2 separate regions of the Homo sapiens genome follow, and region 2 is linked to region 1. The links are contacts of gene promoters, found by promoter capture Hi-C in blood cells and fetal thymus (Javierre and others, 2016). All regions are on one chromosome and are shown on one strand. Each heading gives the region's core, a stretch centred on a gene start or on the middle of the fragment in contact. The rest is flanking DNA. Distances are from core to core; before and after follow the strand shown. Region 1 holds the start of LYPD3 (LY6/PLAUR domain containing 3). Region 2 overlaps LYPD5 (LY6/PLAUR domain containing 5).

What was found. The method cuts DNA at HindIII sites, captures the fragments that hold promoters and counts their contacts. A CHiCAGO score of 5 or more calls a contact.
Region 2: a contact is called between a fragment that was not itself captured here and the fragment with the promoter of LYPD3 in region 1, in 1 of 17 cell types (activated CD4 T cells). The highest score is 5.7, in activated CD4 T cells.

The regions. Positions count from the first base shown.
Region 1 is chr19:43,462,838-43,468,809 of GRCh38, forward strand. It overlaps LYPD3 (LY6/PLAUR domain containing 3), which reads right to left and starts at 2,771. Exons shown (of 5, transcript NM_014400.3): 1 at 2,656-2,771; 2 at 1,488-1,619; 3 at 762-932; 4 at 289-450. The coding sequence starts at 2,734. RefSeq lists enhancers at 300-359, 390-439, 992-1,523 and a silencer at 590-749. The HindIII fragment of the contact is 14,493 bases long and covers 1,760-5,972 here.
Region 2 is chr19:43,793,692-43,799,663 of GRCh38, forward strand. It overlaps LYPD5 (LY6/PLAUR domain containing 5), which reads right to left. Exons shown (of 5, transcript NM_001031749.3): 3 at 5,121-5,297; 4 at 4,764-4,910; 5 at 2,236-4,138. The coding sequence ends at 3,900. Among named protein-coding and RNA genes, the nearest start is that of LYPD5, 5.8 kb to the right of the region's middle. RefSeq lists an enhancer at 5,205-5,374. The HindIII fragment of the contact is 6,084 bases long and covers 387-5,972 here.

The sequences.
Region 1 (5,972 bases), core at 1,521-4,020:
AAGCTTAGAGGCTTAAATACCTCTTAAGTACCTGGCAGCCCTCTATGGAAATGCATTTCCCTCCAAAACACTCTGGGACAAAGCATCACTATCCCCACACTATTAATATGTTGGGGGAAGGGACTGCATTTTCCATGATGCCCTACGATACAAGCACCTAGGCCCCACGATTCCCAGAATGCGTCGCAGGTTAAGGAAACGCTTTGGGTAAAGGGCTCCCTACCGCCCAGGGTGCTTCAGAAGGGCTACCACAACTCCCGTAGGTCCCGTGCTCCGGGGCTCCCTCACCTGCCGTCAAGGTGACGTTGCCGTCGAAGCAGCCCTTGTAGACATGATCGCTGGCGTTGTAGCAGCTCACGACCGGCGGCGATGTACCCTGGCACGCCTCCCGGCTCAGGCCCACACAGCTGTAGCACTCCACGCCGTTGGGCGGGTATGCACTCTCATTACCTGCGAGGGGAGCCGAGAGGAAGAAAAGGTGTCGAAAGGGTTCGGGAACCGCAGCTCGTCCTCTAGCCCCGCCCCTAAGGCCTGGCCCCGGCACTATCGATGACCCCGCCTACTAGTAGCCCCGCCCCAGCGCGCAACCTCGCGGCGCCTACAGCCAGAAAGTCCCTCCTGCTGCCTCTTGGCCCCGCCCCAGAGTGTGACCCCACCCCCAGCCCAGGTCGAGTACTCCCGCCTCTGCCACGGCTCCACCTCTATCTTGGCAGGCCCGAATGTGGCTCCGCCCCCGCAGCTACGGCCCGGCCCCCACGGACCTGCCGGGTCGAGCGCCCGCGAGGTGAGGTTGAGCTTGGCGTTGCAGCGATCCTGAGCGCATTGCTGCAGCTGGATGAACGCCAGAAGCCCGTGAAGATCCAGGCCGCGGTCATTCTTGCCGGGGAGTCCCGAACCGCAACCCCGCACTGCCAGCGAGAATTGTCCGTGGACTAGGGAGAGGGACAAGGGCGGGATTAGCTGTGGGCGTGGTCTCAGATGGGGCGTGGCCCAGAGTTGGGTAGGGTCTGGGAGGGGCGGGGCCTCAAATAGGCCAACACCACAGGACCGACAGGCAGGAATTGGCGGATGGACGCCCCCAAAGAGCCGCTCAGAGCGGAAAGAACGACCGAAGCAGGGAGGAGCGGGGTCACGGAACGGGGGCGGAACCTCAAAGAGCTGAGTCGGAGGAGACAGCCTGGTTGACAGGCAGGGATGGGGAGGTCTCATTGGTGGAGCAGAAAAAGTGCATAGGACGTGACCTCGTTCCAAACCCGAGCTCTCCCCGTCCGCCCCACCCAGTTCTCAACTCTCTGCTCCTCGCGCTTGTAATTGTTAATAGAGAAGGCCTGGCCTGCAAGGCTGTGTCGTAGGGTCCCGGCCAGGCTGAAAGGGAGGGGTGGGGCCGCGTTAAAGGGGCGTGGCCAGATCCAGAAAGGACTATAAGGAGGCGGGGCTGGGCCGGAGGAGCCTGCAGTGGTGTGCGTGGCCCGGGGGTCCCCACTCACTGGTCTCCACCGCCCCCACGGCCTCGGTGCAGACGTCCACGCCCGGCGCGCACTTCACTGTCTTCATCTTGTTCGGGGAGCATCCGTCATCTGCTTTCTGCACGCAGCTGTAGCACTCCAGGGCCTGCGCTCCTGGGGGAGCGGAGCCGAATAGACCTGAGCCCTCCTTGCTAAAGCGTCCACCCCCAAGGAGAAATAGTCCTTCCCATGCCCTCTGTCCCGGGATTAGACAGTCTTATTGCACACACTTTTCCAGGGCAGGAGTAGGGAAAAGCTTTCCACAAATCTGGAAGCACGGGAATCACTGGACCCTTTTCCTTCACACCCACTATGCCAACTGTGGGCACATCCTTCCGACAGCCCTGTATGCCCACTGTAGGCGATCCCCGCCATGAAGCCCCTCATCCCGGGGTAGGAAGGATACCTCCTCACGGTTTTCTGCTCAGAATGAGAGAACTTTTCCCACAGTGTGTGGGAGAACTTTTCCCACAGTAGACTGTGCTCAGTGAGGGATCCCTTCCCACAGCCCCCTTCTGCTCAAATGAGAGAACACTACCCACAGCTTCTCTGCCCAGGACAGGGAACACTTTTTTCTTTTTTTCTTTTTTTCTTTTTTTTTTTTTTGAGACGGAGTCTCGCTCTGTCGCCAGGCTGGAGTGCAGTGGCGCAATCTCGGCTCACTGCAACCTCCCCTCCTGGATTCAAACGATTCTCCTGCCTCAGCCTCCCGAGTAGCTGGGACTACAGGCTCGCGCTACCGCGCCCAGCTAATTTTTGTATTTTTAGTAGAGACAGGGTTTCACCATGTTGGCCAGGCTGGTCTCGATCGTTTGACCTCATGATCCGCCTGCCTCGGCCTCCCAAAGTGCTGAGATTACAGGCATGAACCACCGCGCCCGGCCTAGGAACAGGGGACTTCTTTCTGCAGCTTCAGGATAGGAAAATTTTGCCCACAGCTCCCCTTGTCCGTGGTGGGGAACCCTTCCTACGGCCCATGGTGGAGGACCCTTCCCTCTGCCTCCCTTGCTTAGGATGGGGGAACTTTGCCCACAGTGCCCTCTGCTTATGTGGGGATCCTTCCCACAGCCTTCTCTGTACGGGGCCAGAGGAGCCTCCTCCCTAAGAGCCCCCACTCTACCCCCTCCACCTCTCCGGGCAGCAGACCCACCTCCGCGAAGCAGCAGCAGCAGCAGCCAGCCTGCAGTCCAGATCATGGCCTGGGCACCTGCTTTCCTGGCGGGGTCCATGGCTCCGTCCTGCTCCCTTGGCGTCCCCCCTGGATGTGCCGCCTCCGAGCTCGGGCCCTCTTACCTGAGCCCAGGATGAGTAACCTCGCCCCAGGCAACCCCAGCCTTGCCCAACCGGGCCAACTCAGCGTCGGCTGTGGGGCGGGGCCCCGCCCCTAGGCGCGTCATCCAAGGGAGAGCGGTCCCTGCCCTGTGAAGTTGCCAAGGAGGGAAAGGGTGGGAGCTGAGGTTCCCTGACAGCTCGCGGGAGAAAGTCTGTGTGTGTTTGGAGTGGGAGAGTAGTGGGGCTTAAAGACAGGCTGGGGCTACTCGACATTCAGTGTTCGGTAACTGTTAAATGAGCATCTACAGTGTGCCCGGCTTTGGTCTAGGTAATGCTGGAGATGAAGACAGAACCAGTGCCTGTCCTGGCAGAGCTCACAGTCTGATGGGGGAGACAGATGCTAATCAAATAATCGTACAAATTGGTGTTTACCAAAGAGACTAAGACACTGAAGGAAAAAGTGTAGTGATACAAGGAGATGTGCAGTCTAGAAGTGGGGGCTGGTCGGTGAGGGCTTCCTTGAGGTTATCTGAGATGCAACCTCAAGGGCATGCAGGATGTAGCCAGCTAGAGCAGGTCAAGAGAGGGACACAGCCCTTTACAAGCAGAGGGAACAGCACGTGGGAGCACCTGGAGGTAGGAGGTAGGATGGACCATTCAAACATGGAAAGGAGAGCAGTGCTCCTGAGCTCAGAAGTCCATGAGAGAAGGGCAGGAACTGAGATGAAAGAGTCAGGCAGAGGCCGAGACACTCAGGGCATCAGAGGCCCCGACAAGAGATTTGGATTAATTTTGAGAATAGTAGAGAACCTTTAAGAGGGTCTAAATGAGCTGGAGGACATAATAGATTTGCTTCCTAATATGATCAACCTGAGAAATAGTGCAGCTAGCCATCAAGAAGTAAATGGAGGCCGGGCGCGGTGGCTCATGCCTGTAATCCCAGCAATTTGGGAGGCCGAGCTGGGTGGATCACTTGAGATCAGGAGTTTGAGACCAGCCTGGGCAACATGGCGAAACCTCATCTCTATTAAAAAAAAATAATAAATTTAAAAAAATTAGCCAGGTGCAGTGGCGTGCACCTGCTGTCCCAGCTACTCGGAAGGGTAGGGCAGGAGAATCACTTGAGCCCAGGAGGTGGAGGTTGCAGTGAGCTGAGATCACGCCACTGCACTCCAGCCTGGGCAACAGAGTGAGACCCTGTCTCAAAAAAAAAAATTTAAAAATTTAAAAATTAAAAAAAAGTAAATGGATCTGAGAGTAGGATATATGATTTTAAAAAAGGAAAAAGAAAAAGAAGTGAATGGCAAAAGAGAGTGGTTGGTTCGGCCAATGGAATACTACACAGCAATAGAAAAGATCCAACACCTGATATATGCAGCAACATATCTCAAAAACTTTGTGTTGGGGCCAGGCACAGTGGCTCACACCTGTAATCCCAGCACTTTGAGACACCAAGGTGGGAGGATCACTTGAACCCAGGGGTTTTGAGACCAGGCTGTGCAACATAGTGAGATCCCATCTCATTTTATTTTAAAAAAAGAAAAAACTTGGTGTTGAGTTTAGAAAGCCTTAAACAAACAAACAAAACATACTGTGTAACTGAATATATATGAAGTTTCAGAACAGACAAAACTAACCAGTGGTGATAGAAATCAGAACACATGTTACCTTTGGGAGGGCATGGCCCCAGAAGGAGCAACAGGGAGGAGCCCCCACGATCTTCATCTAGGTGACAGCTGCATGTGTGTACAGATACGTTGAGAATCACTGACTCAGGCCTGTCACTGGACGTATGTTATTCTTCAATAAAAACAAGGTAAAGAATGTCACTGTGGACTCTGTGTAAAAAAGGAAAATGACTCTAGAAGGGGTGAGAGAGAAGGCCAGGAAACCAACAGGGGGCCGTGTAGTTTTCCATGGAAGAAAGAGAAAAACAGCCCCTAACAGCTGGGAGTTGGCCTGACACACATAGTGAGGCCATGGAGTTCAACTGCGCCTAGATAATTTCACAGAGCACCAACCTGGACAAGGCCACACTGCGACAGTAAAGGATCAAGAAACAAATCAATAGCCTGGGCAACACAGCGAAACCTCGTCTCTACTGAAAATACAAAAAATTAGCTGGGCGTGGGGGTGTGCACCTATAATCCCAGCTACTTGAGAGGCTGAGCTGGGAGAATCACCCGAGCCTGGGAGGTTGAGGCTGCAGTGAGCTGAGATTGCGACACTGCACTCCAGCTTGGGCAACCAGAGTGAGACCCTGTCTCAAAAAAACAAAAAACAAAGAAAAACAAAATCAAGACCAATCCATAGCCATGTCTGAACACAGAAACAAACAAGGTCATTGTGCAAACCGCAGAATGACTAAGCATCCCCATATCCTGGCTAATATAAATGACTGCTTATATTATATTAAAGTTACAACTTTAACCTCACTTTATTTCTCCTGCCTCATAAATGAGATTTATGCAAATGCCCAACCACAGCATTACTCCTCCTCTGTTTAACAGTATCCAAACTAGAACGAGGTCCCACTTCCTTGCACCATTCCCAAGACCACCACACACAAGCCCAAATCTTAAAATCAATCCTTTCTGGCCAGGTGCTCACACCTGTAATCCCAGCACTTTGGGAGGCCAAGGGGGTGGATCACCTGAGCTCAAGAGTTCGAGACCAGACTGGCCAATGTGGTGAAACTCCGTCTCTACTAAAAATACAAAAAATTAGCTGGGTGTGGTGGCACACACCTGTAATCCCAGTTCCTGGGGAGTAGGGGCTGAGGCAGGAGAATCGCTGAACCTAGGAGGCAGAGGTTGCAGTGAGCCGAGATTTGCGCCACTGCCCTCCAACCTGGGTGACAGAGCAAGACTTTGACTCAAAAAAAAAAAAAATCAATCCTTTCTAACACCCTTTTACTTAGACACCTCACAGTTACCTCATGGTGTGTTTTCTCCCTCATTGCAAGAAGCAATAAACCCAACTTGTTCAACCACAGGTGTGTCCCTGGTGGAGAACATTGACACAGGCCAGAGCAGATGTACTTAGCCAAGGGTGTCCCAAAGGAAAGGTGAAGAGTGGAAAGATCTAAAATATTTTAGGAGGAAGAACAGGTAGGGATTACTGATGGATCCAATGTGAGGGAAGAGGAAGTGGGAGGTTTCCAAGCTAATTCCAGACAGTTCTTGCCATAAACCA
Region 2 (5,972 bases), core at 2,179-4,678, 330 kb after region 1:
GATCGTGCCAATGCACTCCAGCCTGGGTGAAAGAGCAAGACTCTGTATAAGAAAGAAGAAGAAGAAGAAGAAAGATTACTATGAAGCTGAGCGATTCCTTTTTTCCCCATTCCTCAGGCTGAAACCTATTTACCCTGTTCCTCAGGCTGAAACCTAGGAGTCATCTCAAGTACTCCTCAACCAATATATCAGCAGGTCCTGTCTTCTCCACTAATAAAACCTATTCCTTGCAGCCTGTTAAGGAGAAGCTAAATTTTTAAAAAATCTATTCATTTTCCAACTCCTTGCACTACCTCTGCCATCATCTCTTGCCTAGGTATATCATCTCTGCCTAGACTGGGGCAGTAGCCACCTCACAGGTCTAGCTTCCATTCTTGCCACAGGGAAGCTTTTAAAATGTAAAGCATGTACACAAGAGCACATGCTGTAGGATTCCATTCATATGAAGTTTAAAAATAAGCAAAATTGATCTGTGATAGAAGTTGGAGTCATGGTTATCCTTGGGGTGGGAAACTGACTCTGAAGGGCTATGAGGGAGGCTCTGGGGACATGGGCTGGAAATATTCTACATCTTGACCTAGGTGGAGGTTATTCAGGTATGTACATATGGAAAAATTGCAATTTATGCATTTTATTGTATATATTTTATACCTCAATGAAAATGTTATATCATATATTACATGTAATTATATGTGCATATAATTATATACACATACAACATATATATACACACATACACACACACACATACACCCTTATATATGATTATGGCAGCCTTCTACTTCTCCAACGCATTCTTTTTTTTGTTTTTTTGAGACAGAGTCTCTGTGTGTTGCCCAGGCTTCAATGCAATGGCATGATCTCAGCTCACTGCAACTTTTGCCTCCTGGGTTCAAGTGATTCTCCTGCCTCAGCCTCCCAAGTAGCTGGGACTACAGGTGCATGCCCGGCTAATTTTTGTATTTTCAGTAGAGACGGGATTTCACCATGTTGGCCAGGCTAGTCTTGAACTCCTGACCTCAGGTGATCCGCCCAACCCAGCCTCACAAAGTGCTGGGATTACAGGCATGAGCCACCACGCTGGCTCCAACACATTCTGTGTTAGTCTTGGATTAACCACAGAAACAGAACCAGTAGACAATCTATAATATAAGATTTATTGCAAAGAATTGGCTTATGTGGCCTGGCTAGGCAGGTCAGAAAGAGCAAGCTGGAATCTCAGGCATGGGCTGAAGCAGCTGTCCATAGGTGCAGTTTTTTTCTTCCTCAGAGAAGCCTCATCTCTGCTCCTAAGGCCTTTCAGCTGATAGAGTCAGGCCCACCCAAACTGTCTAGAACAATCTCCCTTCCTCAAAGTCAACTGATTATGGACTTTAATCACATCTACGAAATACCCTCACATCAACACACTGATTAGTGTTTGACTGAATAACTGGAACTGTCACATAGGTAAGCTGACACATCAAACTGGCCATCCCAACTTCAGACCACATTTGCAATAAAATCCAAAATCTGGCTGGGCATGGTGACTCACACCTGTAATCTCAGCACATTGGGAGACTGAGGCAGGAGGACTGCTTGAGCCCAGGAGTTTGAGACTAGCCTGGGCAGCATAGTGGGGGCCCCATCTCTATGAAAAATACAAAAATTAGCAGGGTGTGGTGGCACACACCTATAGTCCCAGCTACTAGGGAGGCTGAGGTGGGAGGATTGCTTGAGCCTGGGAGATTGAGGCCACGGTGAGCTGATTGTGCCACTGCACTCCAGCCTGGGATAGAGCGAGACCTTGTCTCTAATAAATACACAAGCAAAATCCAAAGTTCGCTTTGGATTGCTAGCCCATCAAAAAGGCTAGCTCCTTGAAGGTGGGAATTTTTGCCACTTTAGTTCCCTGCTGCATGCCCAGCAACTGGAACAGTGCCTTGCACATAGTAGGTGCTCAGTAAATGTGAAGGATGAATGAAGACATCCAGCTTCCCCTTGTATGTCAGGATGTAAAGACACCTGAAGCCCTTGTCACATGGCCTTACAGGAGCATAGGAGCGGAGTGTTTCTGAATTGCCCCCCTTCCCACAAGTCTACTTGCTGACATGGAGCGAGAAGACACGGGAGTCTACTCTTGCTATGCACTTACTCTGAAAATTGCTCTCTCACTGTGCTTTGGGCATCTTGTCTGTAAAACAGGAAGGTGTCTTAGTCCCTTCAGGCTGCTGTAACAAAATACCATAGACTGTATGGCTTATACACAACAGAAATTTATGTCTCATAGCTCTGGAGTCTGGGAAGTCTGCAATCAATGCACCAGCAGATTCGATGGCTGGTGAGAACCCACTTTCTTGCTTATAGGCACCTGCTGGCTGTGTTCTCATGTGGTGGAAGGGGCAAGGCAGCTCTCCAGGGCCTCTTTTATAAGGGCACTAATCCTATTCATGGGGGCTCCACCCTCATGATCTCACCACCTCCCAAAGGCCCCACCTCCCAGTAATATCACTTTGGTAATTAGGTTTCAAAAGATGAATTTTGGGGAGACACAAACATTCAGACAATAGCAGGATGCAACTTACTTTTTTGCTTCTCTCACTGAGTTGCTGGAAAGATCAAGTGGCAAAAAGCATGTGAAAGAACATGGTCAAGCATGTGCACAGAGAACATGCTAAAGGATCCCATCTCTATGAAGTTCATGCAGTTATGAAAGTGTCCTGCACTCATGAAAGTGTCCTGCACTCCTTGTGCTCCTTCCTCCCTCAGACCTTTGTCCAGGCTGTCTCCTCTACCTAGAATGCGCTTCCTCCTGCTTCTTTTTGCCAGCTACTATTGATCCTTTAGGATTTTGCTCAAGGGTGAATTCCTCCAGGAAGTCTTCCCTGATCTTTATAGCTTGGAGAATTTCACCTCGCTGAACTTTGCCTTGTGTGTTTTTCTGTGAAGTTAATCGGCACTCATGTGTTTAGGAGGTGGGGTTGCTTAGCAGTTCGTGGGGCTGGGAATCTGGTCCCTGAATCCATACTCACTAGATACACAAGCTCAACCAAGTGCTTTTGCCTCTCAGTTTGTTGACCTGTGACTTAGGGCTTATGACAAGTAGCCCATTTACACTGGGCCACTGCTGTGTCCCAAGTACTAAATGTTCATCTCGTTGAATCCTCACTGCAACTACTGTGAAGTAGTTCTTGTCATGTTATAGAGTTTATTTTCACCTCCACCTTATAGGTGAGAAAATATTGGCACAGAGAGCTCAAGTAACTCACCCACAGTCTCTGCAGGCTGAATGGTGGAGCTGGGATTTGAACCCATGCAGCTTAGCTCCAGAGCCTGGCTTAAGTAACTCACCCATGGTCTCTGTAGGCTGAATGCTGGAGCTGGGATTTGAACCCATGCAGCTTAGCTCCAGAGCCTGGCTTAAGTAACTCGCTCATGGTCTCTGCAGGCTGAATGGTGGAGCTGGGATTTGAACCCATGCAGCTTAGCTCCAGAGCCTGGCCTACTAACTGTTAGGGCATACTGCTTATTGGGCTTCTCATGATGACACTAATAAAGACATCATTGTATAGCTCCCTCCTAGAGCTGCGACAGGCTCTGGAGGGAGAGCACAGGAAGCCGTGTTATGGGGTGCCTGGTGCCTGGCTGGTGCTCAGTGAGTAACAGCTGTGATCAGAATTGCTCTTCATCGGGGCACGACATGGCTGTTTTGCCCTCCCCGGGGATGCTGGTGACTGTGTCCAGTTTCTTCCAGTACTGTTGGCCAGGTTGTGGGGCACAAGGGCGGGAGAGATGGAAGGCCAGAGGGACAGGAGTGCAATTCTTACTTTAACATCATTTTCCAGTGAGCTATGTGATAGGGGCTGAAGCAGCAAGAATGAGGTGTGTGAGCCCTGTCCCCAGCATCCTGGAGGGGCGGTCTATGCTGAGAGCCCCACCAGCAGGAGGACTGGGAGGAGCAGGGCCAGGACCTGTAGTGCTCGGGGAGGGGTGGTGGCTGAAGCACTGGTGAAGGGCTGGGTCATGGATTTCCTGTTGCAGAGGTACCCCTCACAGCAGGAGCCCTGGAGGTCGATGGCTGTCCAGGGGCTGGTGGTGCCCTCGGTGGTGCAGGAGGGCCGGTGGCAGGTTCTGATGTACACAGGGACTGAGAAATTGCCTGGAGGTGGGCAAAGCAGTGAGGAACGGTCAGAACTGAGGGAGACAGCTGCACCTGAACCTTCACCTTGGTAGCTAGGGCCATGCCTCGGTCCTCAGACTTGCTTCAGGTTTTCCTCCTAAGACCAGGGCCAGGCCTCCCTCAGACCAGGGCCATGCCTCTTCCCTCAGAACAGGGTCGTGCCTCCTCCCTCAGACCAGGGCCATGCCTCTTCCCTCAGACCAGGGGCCATGCCTCCTCCCCCAGACCAGGGTTATGCCTCCTCCCTCAGACCAGGGCATGGCCTCCTTCCTCAGAGCAGGGCCAGGCTTCTCCCTCAGACCAGGGTCTTGCCTCCTCCCTCAGACCAGGGTCATGCCTCCTCCCTCAGACCAGGGTCATGCCTCCTCCCTCAGACCAGGGTCATGCCTCCTCCCTCAGACCAGGGCCAAATCTTCTCCCTCAGACCAGGGCCAAATCTTCTCCCTCAGACCAGGGTCAAACCTTCTCCCTCAGACCAGGGTCATGCCTCCCACCTCAGAGCAGGGCCATGTCTCCCTGTTGGGCCTGTCTGGTATCACTACCCTCATGGCTGCCCTGCCTCCATATCCCTTGCCCAGGCCCTTCCACCCTTCCAGCCCCTTACCAACTGTCATTCTGCCATTGCCCTGGAAGCAGGCGGTCTGGTCCTGGTGACACTGGACTCGTCGGGACCTGCCGATAGCGCAGTCATCCTGGTGGACCCCGATACAGGCGTAGCACTCGGCGCCGCTGAGCGTCGGCGGGTCGGGTGCTGGCAAGAGAGCGTAGATGCACACTCAGGCAGTGGTACCCTGGCACAGTCGTGCGGGCTGCGCACTGCGCCAGAGCCCGCGCCTAGCACGTCTCGGGGGTTGGGATCCTAGCGCGCCAAGAGCAGGCGCCCAGCGGAGGCCACGCCTTCCCCGAGGCTGCCAGGCCTCTCATCGTCCCTCCCGGAGCCCAGCCCCGCTCTCCCGCGCACCTTGGCTCAGGTTGGGGAGGGCGTCATGAGTCATGAGGTGGGCGTTGCATTTGTCAGTTGTGCAGCCGCGCACCACCGAGTAGTCTGGCGGCAGCGCGTCCGCGTTCGATTGCGTCTGGCCCGCAGGAGGCCCGGTCCAGCAGCCCTTCCGCACCAGGGTCACCGGCGCGCGATACCCTGGGGGCGGGATCGGGGCTCGTGCTCTGCTTCCCGAAACCCTTCTCCCTCCAGTCTCAGCGTTCTTCCTCCTCCCTCTATCCTTTCACTTTCACCTACACCTCCTCCCCTCCCTCCTTCCCTCCTTCCTCTCACCCCCAGACCTTTTCCCCCGAGTTCTTCTCTTCCTCCACTCTTCCTCCCTGTGCGCCTCTCCCACCTTCTCTTCCTTGCTTCCCCATTGTTTCCTCCCCTCACCGCTCGTCCCTCATCCACTTTTTCTTTTGTGGGGCGGAGGACGGAGCCTCGCTCTGTCGCCAGGCTGGAGTGCAGTGACCCGATTTCGGCTCACTGCAACCTCCGCTTCCCGGATTCAAGCGATTCTCGTGCCTCAGCCTCCCGAGTAGCTGGGATTACAGGTGCCCGCCACCACGCCCAGCTAACTTTTTGTATATTTAGTAGAGACGGGGTTTTGCCATGTTGGCCAGGCTGGTCTCAAACTTCTGACCTCGTGATTCGCCAGCCTCTGCCTCCCAAAGTGCTAGAGTTACAGGCCTGAGCCACTGCCCCAGCCCTCATCCACCCTTTTCTTTTTCTTCCTCCTCTTCTTCCTCTCCCTCCCCATCTTTCTATCTTTATCTTTTCATCTTCTACTCAATTCCCCTCCCTTTCTGCTCCCCTCTCCCCCCTTTTTCC